Linked DNA regions of Homo sapiens: region 1 is linked to region 2. The links are contacts of gene promoters, found by promoter capture Hi-C in human tissues and cell types (Jung and others, 2019). All regions are on one chromosome and are shown on one strand. The core of a region is centred on a gene start or on the middle of the fragment in contact, and the rest is flanking DNA. Distances in the headings are between cores, read along the strand shown.

Region 1 (5,346 bases), core at 650-3,149, 890 kb before region 2:
CTGTGTTAATTTAAGGAAGACTTTCCTGTTGGTTTGTTGAATGCTCTGTGTTTCCTCTGTAATGCTTTCTTAGCTCTTTCTATTGTTTCCTCAGGCATTATTTCATTTTCCCAGTTACTGTATATTTGTACCTGCTTCTGGTATGTTAAGTCCTTTATCTTCTGGCATGAACCACTTGCCCATTCCATCAGTGTGCACTGCTTCTTCCAGTGTCCTACGTCAAGTGTTCACTCAGAGACGCTTCTATTCTCATTTCCAGTTGGCCTGTGGATTAATGCCAGTGAACTTGTGATGATGTTTGCACTTTCATAGTTCCCACCTAAATGTCATCCTCTTGAATGAAAAGAAAGAACCCATCCAGAAATACAGAAGAGTATCTTAAATTACTTTATAATACATAGAGGACCTAAATCTCTTATTTTTTTTCCTATGCATAGATTAAATCTTTTTGAGACATAGCTTTTTCATCAAAAAACTGTATTCTCTTAATATGTATGCACAGACAGATACTCATATATTCAAGATGTCTAGAAACTTGTTAAAAAAAAAATCGGCCAAGCGTGGTGGCTCACGCCTGTAATCCAAGCACTTTGGGAGGCCGAGGCGGGCGGATCACGAGGTCAGGAGATTGAGACCATCCTGGCTAACACAGTGAAACCCTGTCTCTACTAAAAATACAAAAAATTAGCCAGGCGTGGTGGTGGGCGCCTGTAGTCCCAGCTACTTGGGAGGCTGAGGCTGCAGAATGGCGTGAACCCGGGAGGCAGAGCTTGCAGTGAGCCAAGATTGTGCCACTGCACTCCAGCCTGGGCAACAGAGCAAGACTCCATCTCAAAAAAAAAAAAAAAATTCCACACTCCCATAAAAGGAAGTAACCAGAAATTGCATTCTGGAGTGAACCCCTCTGAGATACCATCTGTAAGGAAATTTTTTTCATTACAGTTTTTATATCCATATGTTTTCTATCTGCCAGAAATGTTAGTTGTCTTCCCAAATGCCAAAGCATGAGTATGTGCCCTTTTTAAACATAGGCTATATGCCAAAAATAGTTATTTCACAATAATTTCTCTATTGTATAATTTTACCCAATAAGATCCACATCTCAACTGCAAAAAGCCAGTTCCACCTACACAAGCCTTTTTAGTTTGCTCCCTAAGATAGGGTCATAGCTTAGTTTTATAGAGTATCGATGAATTTACCATTCAACAGAATCACCTGGAGAACTTTCACCCTCTCAATGCTTCATTACCCGAATGTTTCATTTCAATCCTTAAAGGGACTGAGAAAGAGAAAAAAAGTTACTGATCCATCTTACACACAGGCATCTCCATTTCAACACATATTATTTTCCTCATGTCAGTGGGATCATTGAAAATTACATTAAGAACCCTCCGGTGTTGTGACTATTTTTGTGATTACCAAGGCTAGCTCTTTGTGAATACCTCAAATCTCAGACTTTCTACCGGTGACGCTCCTGGAGAGATGCATTAGAAATGCATCCTGGCGTGACCTTTATTTTTAACCAGGGTATCTGAAATACCCAACAAGACCATCTCACTTTATAATACAGGAGATTATCTACTTAGCTTGCTTTAAGTGATTCAAATCCAAAAATACACCTATGTGGAATTTTAGGCTGATAACAATTTTATAATAAATTTTAACATATCTAAAACAAATACCTCCTAATAAATGTAATCAACTCGCATTTTACTCGGGAAAGAACACTAAGCTGGCAAGTAAGAGACTAGATTCTAGTCAATTCTAGACTTAAGCAGTCAGCCTCTCTGAACCTCAGTTTTCTCCTGTGACATGAGATGAAATGACCAAAGGAACATTCAGTTCTATCATCCTGTGATTGGACTCTTGTTACAGTGCGTGCTTGAATGTCCTCCAAAGATGTGATATTCAATACAATTTGTATTTATTTAGAAGTTATCTAAACACCATTTCAAGTTCAGTGGTGCTAAATGCTGCTAACTCACTTCGTCTACAATATGCAAAATGCACACATACACCGTGTCTTTTTCAAAGATGCGTGTCTAAAGCCAGTCTAATTAAATGCCATGGTTAACAGTGATTTGTAGCACTGATGGGTTACAGTCAAAATTTTAAAATAAGAATATTTCAGTGCCAGTTTAAATGCCCTTCAGGCTAAATAACTGTGCATGGCATGAGCTCATTGATGATGACGTTACTCACATCTGAGGTATAACCCATGAGAGGGAAAAATTGTATTACTCTTGATTTTATCTAGTTTCATGCATCCATTAACTTCATCTTTCTCCTTTGAGATGAGCTTGGAGAAGTCAAATCCCACCATGACAAGTTAGGTGCCAATGTGCTACAAAGTTTAAAGAAACAGTTACAGATCCAAAAGCTAATGTGCCTCTACATTAAGCCATTCCTTCTCTTTCCTGCCTTCACTCTCAATTACGGTGAAATCCGAATTGTGAAAATTATGAAGAAATGTCCTTCCACGAGGCAAACCCAATTCATAAGTGAAATATTATAATTCAGTAATAAGCATTTTATATTTGAACTTTATGTATGTGCATAAATTGATACTGATATTCTTAAGAGATGAAGAAATACTGAAAACTAGCCATTATGTGCCCTCAGTGGTGCATGCCAAAACCAATTTTTTGAGGAAAAAAAATAAGTATGCAGCATTTGTTATCTTACTGATGGCCAATGTTCATGAACGCCTTGATAGTGTGTCTAAGCATGGGATCATAGACCCTGGGCTTGTGGGGAGCTCACGTACTGGCATCTGGAAGGCACTGGCTTCCCCACTTGGCTATTTGAGTGGGTGCTCTACCCTTTCAGGATGAAGAATTGCTACCATGCCACCTGTTACCAGTGGAGGAAGGAGAAGGGGAATGTGTCCTAAGTAGGTGGGTCAAAGCCCTCCATGTTTCCTTGAACGTGCTAAATGGCTCTCTGGCTCTTTCTCTTGATTTCTACAAAGAGTTTCAAGGAGAGCTTAGGTGAGCAAGGCCCTACTTCTGCAAAGCCCTAAATAGGAACAGGTGTGTACTGCTCTTATCATTGGGCCTGCATTTATCTCATGGCAAAATCTGGCATGAGCAGATAATTTAGAGACATAAGTTATTCACATGACATAGTTTTTGAAGCTTCATTTTTCAAAGTATTTAACTTTATTCACTTTTTGGATTTTCTTCAGTTCGTGTTCAAGACCAGGGCATGCAAGGAGAGGACTGTACATGAGGAACTGGCTAAAAATGTGACTGGTCTTTTGAAATCAAATGACTCAACAACAGTAAAGCATGTCCTAAAGGTAAGAATTTAAAGATGGTCCTTTAACTGTGAGTACTAGGCATGGGTCACGCTTACTCCTGGAAAATGATAGGAGTCATGGATTTTCATAGACTTTTTCTCTTGCAGTTTCCAGCATAAGGTTCATATTGAAACTTAGCATATAAAGATACTAAGCAAAAGAGATCTATATCGAGACAACATAGAAAAAAGTAGAGTGGGCCAGGTGCAGTGGCTCACCTCTGTAATCCCAGCATTTTAGGAGGCTGAGATGGGCAGATCACCTGAAGTCAGGAGTTCAAGACCAGCCTGGCCAACATGGTGAAACCCCATCTCTACTAAAAATACAAAAACAAAATTAGCCAGGAGTGGTGACAGATGCCTGTAATCCCAGCTACTCAGGAGGCAGAGGCAGGGGAATCGCTTGAACCCGGGAGGCAGAGGTTGCAGTGAGCCGAGATCATGCCATTGCACTCCAGCCTGGGCAACAAGACCAGAGAGAGAGAGAGAGAGAGATACATAGATAGATATTGTATGTTAGAAAAGAAGATGCATTAGAAAAATTGTAGAACAGGTAAGAATTGGGCATTGTGAGTGCTGAAGGTGCAGGGGAGATTTGAAGTTTTAAATAGAATGGTCAGGATATCTGATGGAGGAGGTAATTCTTGAGCAAAAAAAAAAAAAATTTGAAGGCGAAGAGGGTGCTGGCCATGGGGATGCTCAGAGGGAAAGACCTGTGTGAAGTCATCAGGCAGCAGCATGGCTGGTGTGTCTGCAGGAGACAGGGAGGACACTGTGGCAGGAGACAGGGAGGACACTGTGGCTGGAGCCAAGTGAGCAGAAAGAAAAAAAAAAGATGGACGATGAAGTCATGGAAGCCACTGGAGGCTTGGGAGTTAGCATAGGCCAGGCGTTCCCACTCAGAGCAGAACTGGGAGTTGTGTCGTTGGAGGGTTTTGCACAGAGGAGTAATGTTTTAAACCAAGCTGACCTTGGTTTAAAAGGATCCCTCTGATTGCTGTGTTGAGAATCGACTACAGTGGGATAAAAATGGAGACCACAACCACTTGAGGGGCTATCAGAGAAGCAGGATCCTCTGGGGAGAGTCACTGCTCAGTTAAAATATGGAGTGAAGGGAATGCTCGGAGAAGAATTGCATCTTCAAGAGATTGTGCTAACGATGGACCATGTGCTCTGGAAGGTGGGGTGGGTGGGTTTCAGGAGATTGGAAGCAGTGGAATGTGCAGATATATAAGGGAATATGTGGAGAGGGCAGTAGAGGAGTTGAGGCTTCATCTGTCATCAGACGTGAACAGGCAAAAGCTCAATTTCATTAGTGCTGGTGGTTTCAAGGAAAATAGTGGAGGCAGGCCAGAGTGCTAAGGGATGGAGAGGGGTAGGAGTCTGTTGAATTAAGAGACAAATGTTGGAACACTTGACACGATGGCTCAAAATATTTTGGACAAGATTAGGGAAAGAGGATTGCAGCAGTGTGCCTGGGATTCATTCATATTCCTAACAACATGTTTCACTTCTAATAGCCATTAGAATGCTATTGGAGTGCTAGAATAGTATTGGTAGCCATTTCCATTTCTTCTTACTAAGAAGTGACCACTTCATTAAGCCATAGCTGCCTTTGTAGAATATCAATCCCTTCTCTTTTTTATCTGAGTCAGTCTTCTGGAATTAGGACTGTCTTGTCAAAAGTTTATCGCAGCATTGTTTGTATGACTTAAAACAGGATATAATCCAAATGCCCATTGACAGTAGAGCAGATAAGTACATGGTGATTATATATGTCATGTGGTGACCATATGTGATCCCCCCAGCTACGTGCTTCAACATAAACGAACCACAGAACAGAATTTGTTGAATGAAAAAGGCAATCTCAGAAGAATACATAGAGGATAGTTCCATTCTTATGAAGTTCAGTGGCCAGATGAACTAAATATCCCTTCATTGTATAAGTATTCGTAGCAAAATTGTGAAGTAAAGCAAAGGAATGATTAGCACAAAATTTAAAACTGTTATCTGTGGTGGAAGGAGTAGGAAGCAGAGAGGATGCAA
Region 2 (5,363 bases), core at 748-3,247:
TGGCACCTGGCTCACAGCAGGCACTTGGGAGATGTTGGTTGATTAAACAAAGTTGTTCAGTAGCGTGTCTAGTCATTACACTGTACAGCCTCACAAAAACCATGTCTTATTAATCTCATCAGCAACAGCATATAGTAAGTGTGCGATATATGTCTGTTGAATATAGGAATAAATAAATTCATGAATGTTTGTTAATAACTTCATCATGAGAAAGTATTAGTACAATGGTGGCTCCTGCCCGTAATCCCAGCATTTTGGGAGGCTGAGGTGGGCAGATGATTTGAGGGCAGAAGTTTGAGACCAGCCTGGTCAACATGGTGAAACCCTGTCTCTAGTAAAAATACAAAATTAGCCAGGCATGGTGGTAGGTGCTTGTAATCCCAGCTACTCGGGAAGCTGAGACAGGTGAATCCCTTTAACCTGGGAGGCGGAGGTTGCCGTAAACCGAGATCGCACCACTGCACTCCAGCCTGGGTGACGGAGTGAGTTCGTCTCAAAAAACTAAAACAAAACAAAACAAAAACAAAAAGAAAGTTCTAGTAAATCACTGTACATAGAAGTACCATCTGATTCACATCCATAATTTAAAGTTTTTATTAGCTACCTTAAAAAAATAAGCAGGTCATATTAATTTTAATAGTATCTAACTCAATATATCCAAAATAGTATCATTTCAACATGTAATCATTGTAACAATTATTGATGAACTATATTACATCTTTTTTGTTTTGTGCTAAGTCTATAAAATCTTGTAGTATTTTGCACTTGTACTACATCTCAGTTTGGACAAGCCACATTTCAAGTGCTCTATAGTCATGTGGATAGTACGGTTCTAATGCAATTCTGCAATTCAGGTGTCAGAATAATATAGTGGGGCAGAAGTTTGGAGTCATTGACTTCCTGAGTCCAAATTTTGGCTCTTGAACTTACTGGTTGTCAATGACCTCTAGCCAAAAACCACCAGGAACAAATGGGGTTGATTGCTTGTTGGAGGGAGAAGACACACCATTGGGAATGGTGAGGTGTCTGGGTAAAGGGATGTTCGGACAGTTTTATTATAGGATTTGTGTTTGTGTTAGGTGACCTGGGAGAGCTTAAGGAAGAGAGGCTCTCCTGTGGACTGGATGTTGTCAGGAAATGCGTATAATTCTAAGGTTGCATATCTTAATAAATCTTATCTAAATGGAGGAAGACTAGATAGCGGTTAACATTATAATTAATAAAGAAATAAGAGTCACTCATATTAGCCAGGATAGGGGGATGTTTGGTAATTTCTGTGGCTTGTACATCGCTCATATTTTGGCCGTGTTTAGATGTGATTATGGAGTGGCCTCGTCTGATGTTTATGTTCCACAGGAAGCAAACACTTCCTAGCAACACCAAAGCTCAGCTGATAGTACCAGGCAGCTCCTGGAGATCAAGGGCTGCTTTTCTCCCTCTCATAGCTGTGCAACCTTAAGGTAGTGATCAAACTTCTCTGGTTGTTTTCTCATCTCTAAAATGGGAATACAAGAGCATCTATTTCATCTCTTAAAATTATCAGTATTAAATGAGATGCAAAGACACTGAGTTAATGCCTGGTATATGGTCACCACTCAGTGCTATCTATTGTAGTTCAAAGATTCTAAGATGCACTATATTTTTTCACATTTTAACATTTCTGAAAGTGTGTGCCTTTCAAACAATGGCTTCTTCAAATGGATGAAATGTAGTATTGTAATTTCTGAAATCTCTGGTTTGGGGGACAATTCCTTGTCCCCTCCAGGTGCTCAATTTATTCCTGGGTGAATGGCTTTACTTTTAAACCTTCCTTACTTTCCCCATTTCTCCGCAGGCGCCCCGTGGCATCCTCTCCCAGCCACAGACTTTCAGCTTGCGCGGCATCCCCAGGCAATACGGGCGGTGCGGCGGCAGCACTCGGGGGCTTACGGCGGCGCGGCGCCCAAGAGGCCCCAGCAGCCGAAGGGAAACCGGCGCGTCCCCCGCCCGCCCAGGCGTCAGCTGATGGGCTGCCTGCCGAGGAGGCCGCAGCAGTCGCCGCGCGAACATGGCGGCCGAAATCCACTCCAGGCCGCAGAGCAGCCGCCCGGTGCTGCTGAGCAAGATCGAGGGGCACCAGGACGCCGTCACGGCCGCGCTGCTCATCCCCAAGGAGGACGGCGTGATCACGGCCAGCGAGGACAGGTAGGGCCCGGGCGCAGCCGGGGCGGCCCGAACTCCGCGACGACGGGGTGTGGGGGCGGTGGGGTCCGCGGCCCCGGTCCTTCCTGCGTGAGGGGGCTCCCCCGGCAGCACGGCCCCACCCCCACTCTGCGCCCCTTAGCTCCGCCGGGTTCCCGGTTCCCTCCCGCCGGTCCTCCAGCCTCGACTTGCACCTTTCCAGCCTGGGACCCCGGTCTCGCCGCGCCCCTCCAGCCCGGATCCCCTGTCCCACCGCGCCCCTCCAGCCCGGGAACTCCGTCTCACCGCGCCGCCCAAGCCCGGGACCCTTGTTCCAACGTGTCTTTCCAGCCCAGGACCCCTGTTCCAGTGCGCCCTACCGCGCCCCTCCCAGCCCACCTCGCCCCTCCTGCTCAGGACCCCTGTTCCAATGCTCCCCAACGCGCCCCTCCAGTCCGGGACCCTTGTCCCACTGCGCCCGTCCATCCCGGGAGCTCCGTCCCACCGCGCCCCTCTAGCCCGGATCTTCTGTCCCACTGCGCCCCTCCAGCCCGGGAACTCTGTCCCACCGCGCCACTCAAGCCCGGGACCCCGGTTCCAGTGCGCCCCAACGCACCTCTCCAGCCCAGGACCTCTGTCTCACCGCGCCCCTCCAGCGCGGGAACTCTGTCTCACCGCGCTGCTCAAGCCGGGGACCCCTGTTCCAGTGCGCACCAACGCGCCCCTCCCAGCCCACCGCGCTCCTCCAACCAGGGAACCCCGACCTGCGGTGTCGCACTAGCCTGGGACCTTCGTCCCGGTCTCTCTCCCTGGCGGGGTTTAGCCTGGTACTCGGAAGGTGTTTCTTGGCCCTCCCGGGTCAGTTCCAAATCGTCTCCTCTGGAAGCGTGGAGGACCGGCGGCTGGTCACTGCGGACCCTGGTGCCCGGGGCTTGCTTCTTTGCGAGGAACTCCAGCCGCCTTCGCTCTCTTCCTCCCCCTGTACTCAGGGATTTCACGCCACGCCAGGCCTCTAGATCAGTTATTTTTGCCACGGCTGCTAGAATCACCTGAACTCTTATTTACTAAATAGGTTTTTGTGAAAGTGACTCATTTTTAAAAATATTTGGATGCATTTATTTTAAAAGGAAATCTTATTTATTAGGAAAACTAACATTACTCACCAGACAGAGTAAACTAATAACTAAAACATGTTAATTGGCATGCACACAGAGTCCTCTCTTGCACTGTGACATCTTGCATTGGACGCCCACCATGCTTTTGGGAAACACTGATTGGGTCCAGTTTTCTCATTTCTCCTAAGAGGAAGCCGAGGCTGGTGGAGGTGTAGCTTGCTGCTAAGTTACAGAGATACTGGTGAAGCCGGAAATGCAATCCAGAACTCCCACCAGCTCTGGGCCTGAGTGATTGGATTGGAACAGTATTTATGATTCGACTTTAAACTTTAGCGTCTTTCAAATCCTAAAGGTTTACAATGTCAGTAGCTTTCCGGTGGGAATTTGAAGGAAATGACTGATGTTTATTGAATGAAACTGTGTTTCCTTGATGCAATGAGCCGTCTTAAATAGGGATAGTCCACAAGTCCAAAAGCTTTCTGGAGGATGGAAGGTACTGCTATTCTCTTAAAGCTGAAGGCGTGGTCTCTAGCCTTTTGTAATTATACCTTTTGAAGTGACATTGACCCTATCCTGAATGGGAAGAAAAAGCCTGAAGCCCCCAACTCCTGTTGGTCCTTTGGATTTTGCTTTTGAGTGAGCTTGTGCCTTTTTCCTCAATTAGATAATGAGCTGATTGTGAGCAGGCAGTGGCCTCTCCCTGCTGGTTCACCTGTAGCTGACTTCCAACAAGGAGGGGAGTGATTGGCAGGACCTGGCTGTGGGTCTGTAAAGCAGAAAGGAGTGAGAGAGATCGAGTGCATGAGACCTGGGGAGAAGGTGGGGACCTGAAAAAGGCAAGGACAGAATAATGACTTTTTTTTTTTTTTTTTAAGATGGAGGCTTGCTCTGTCACCCAGGCTGGATGGAGTGCAGTGGCATCATCTTGGCTCACTGCAACCTCCGCCTCCCAGGTTCAAGCGATTCTCCTGCCTCAACCTCCTGAGTAGCTGGGACTATAGGCGCCTGCCACCACGCCCAGCTAATTTTTCTATTTTTAGTAGAGACAGGGTTTCACCATGTTGGTCAGGATGGTCTCGATCTCCTGACCTCGTGATCCACCCGCCTTGGCCTCCCGAAGTGTTGGGATTACAAGCATGATCCACTGGTGTCCGGCCAGAATAATGACTCTTGCATGATGTGAACGTAGATGCAGACAACACTCTTTAAAAGTTAGCCTTTGGGCCGGGCGCGGTGGCTCACGCCTGTAATCCCAGCACTTTGGGAGGCCGAGGCGGGTGGATCATGAGGTCAGGAGATCGAGACCATCCTGGCTAACAAGGTGAAACCCCGTCTCTACTAAAAATACAAAAAATTAGCCGGGCGCGGTGGCGGGCGCCTGTAGTCCCAGCTACTGGGGAGGCTGAGGCAGGAGAATGGCGTGAACCCGGGAAGCGGAGCTTGCAGTGAGCCGAGATTGCGCCACTGCAGTCCGCAGTCCGGCCTGGGCGACAGAGCGAGACTCCGTCTCAAAAAAAAAAAAAAAAAAAGTTAGCCTTTGGCCAGGCGCAGTGGCTCATGCCTGTAATCCCAGCACTTTGGGAGGCCGAGGCGGGTGGATAACAAGGTCAGGAGGTCGAGACCATCCTGGCTAACACGGCGAAACCCAGTCTCTACTAAAAATTCAAAAATTAGCCAGGTGTGGTGGCAGGCGCCTGTAGTCCCAGCTACTCGGGAAGCTGAGGCAGGAGAATGGCGTGAACCTGGGAGGCAGAGCTTGCAGTGAGCCAAGATTGTGCCACTGCACTCCAGCCTGGGCGATAGAGCCAGACTCCGTATCAAAAAAAAAAAAAAGTTAGCAGCCTTTATTCGGTCAAATATTTTATTCATGAATCATGCGTTTTGGGTAAGTTGCTAAATATTTGAGATTGCTGGTCAGGAGCAGTGCTGATAAATGTTTTTGGAAAGTGATTACTAAGCTGCTCTGGGACTGAAACGTTCTGGGGGAGCTTGCATCTGCTCACTTTTTCACTCGTGCACCACTGTTATTGCAGAGCCCAGGTAGATGACTGGACCAGGATGGGGTTGGCGTTTGAGGTTTCTGTTGTG

What was found. The method cuts DNA at HindIII sites, captures the fragments that hold promoters and counts their contacts. A contact is called where the count stands out against the background at its distance.
Region 1: a contact is called between a fragment that was not itself captured here and the fragment with the promoter of WDFY1 in region 2, in 1 of the 25 tissues and cell types used here (dorsolateral prefrontal cortex).

Annotation. Positions count from the first base shown.
Region 1 is chr2:224,832,105-224,837,450 of GRCh38, reverse strand. It overlaps DOCK10 (dedicator of cytokinesis 10), which reads left to right. Exons shown (of 56, transcript NM_014689.3): 26 at 3,188-3,301. Among named protein-coding and RNA genes, the nearest start is that of CCDC195, 120 kb to the right of the region's middle. The HindIII fragment of the contact is 5,250 bases long and covers 1-4,524 here.
Region 2 is chr2:223,941,969-223,947,331 of GRCh38, reverse strand. It overlaps WDFY1 (WD repeat and FYVE domain containing 1), which reads left to right and starts at 1,997. Exons shown (of 12, transcript NM_020830.5): 1 at 1,997-2,184. The coding sequence starts at 2,048. It overlaps LOC124907989 (a long non-coding RNA gene), which reads right to left and starts at 4,108. Exons shown (of 2, transcript XR_007088100.1): 1 at 2,925-4,108. RefSeq lists a silencer at 2,246-2,425 and enhancers at 2,996-3,055, 3,066-3,185. The HindIII fragment of the contact is 3,551 bases long and covers 1,098-4,648 here.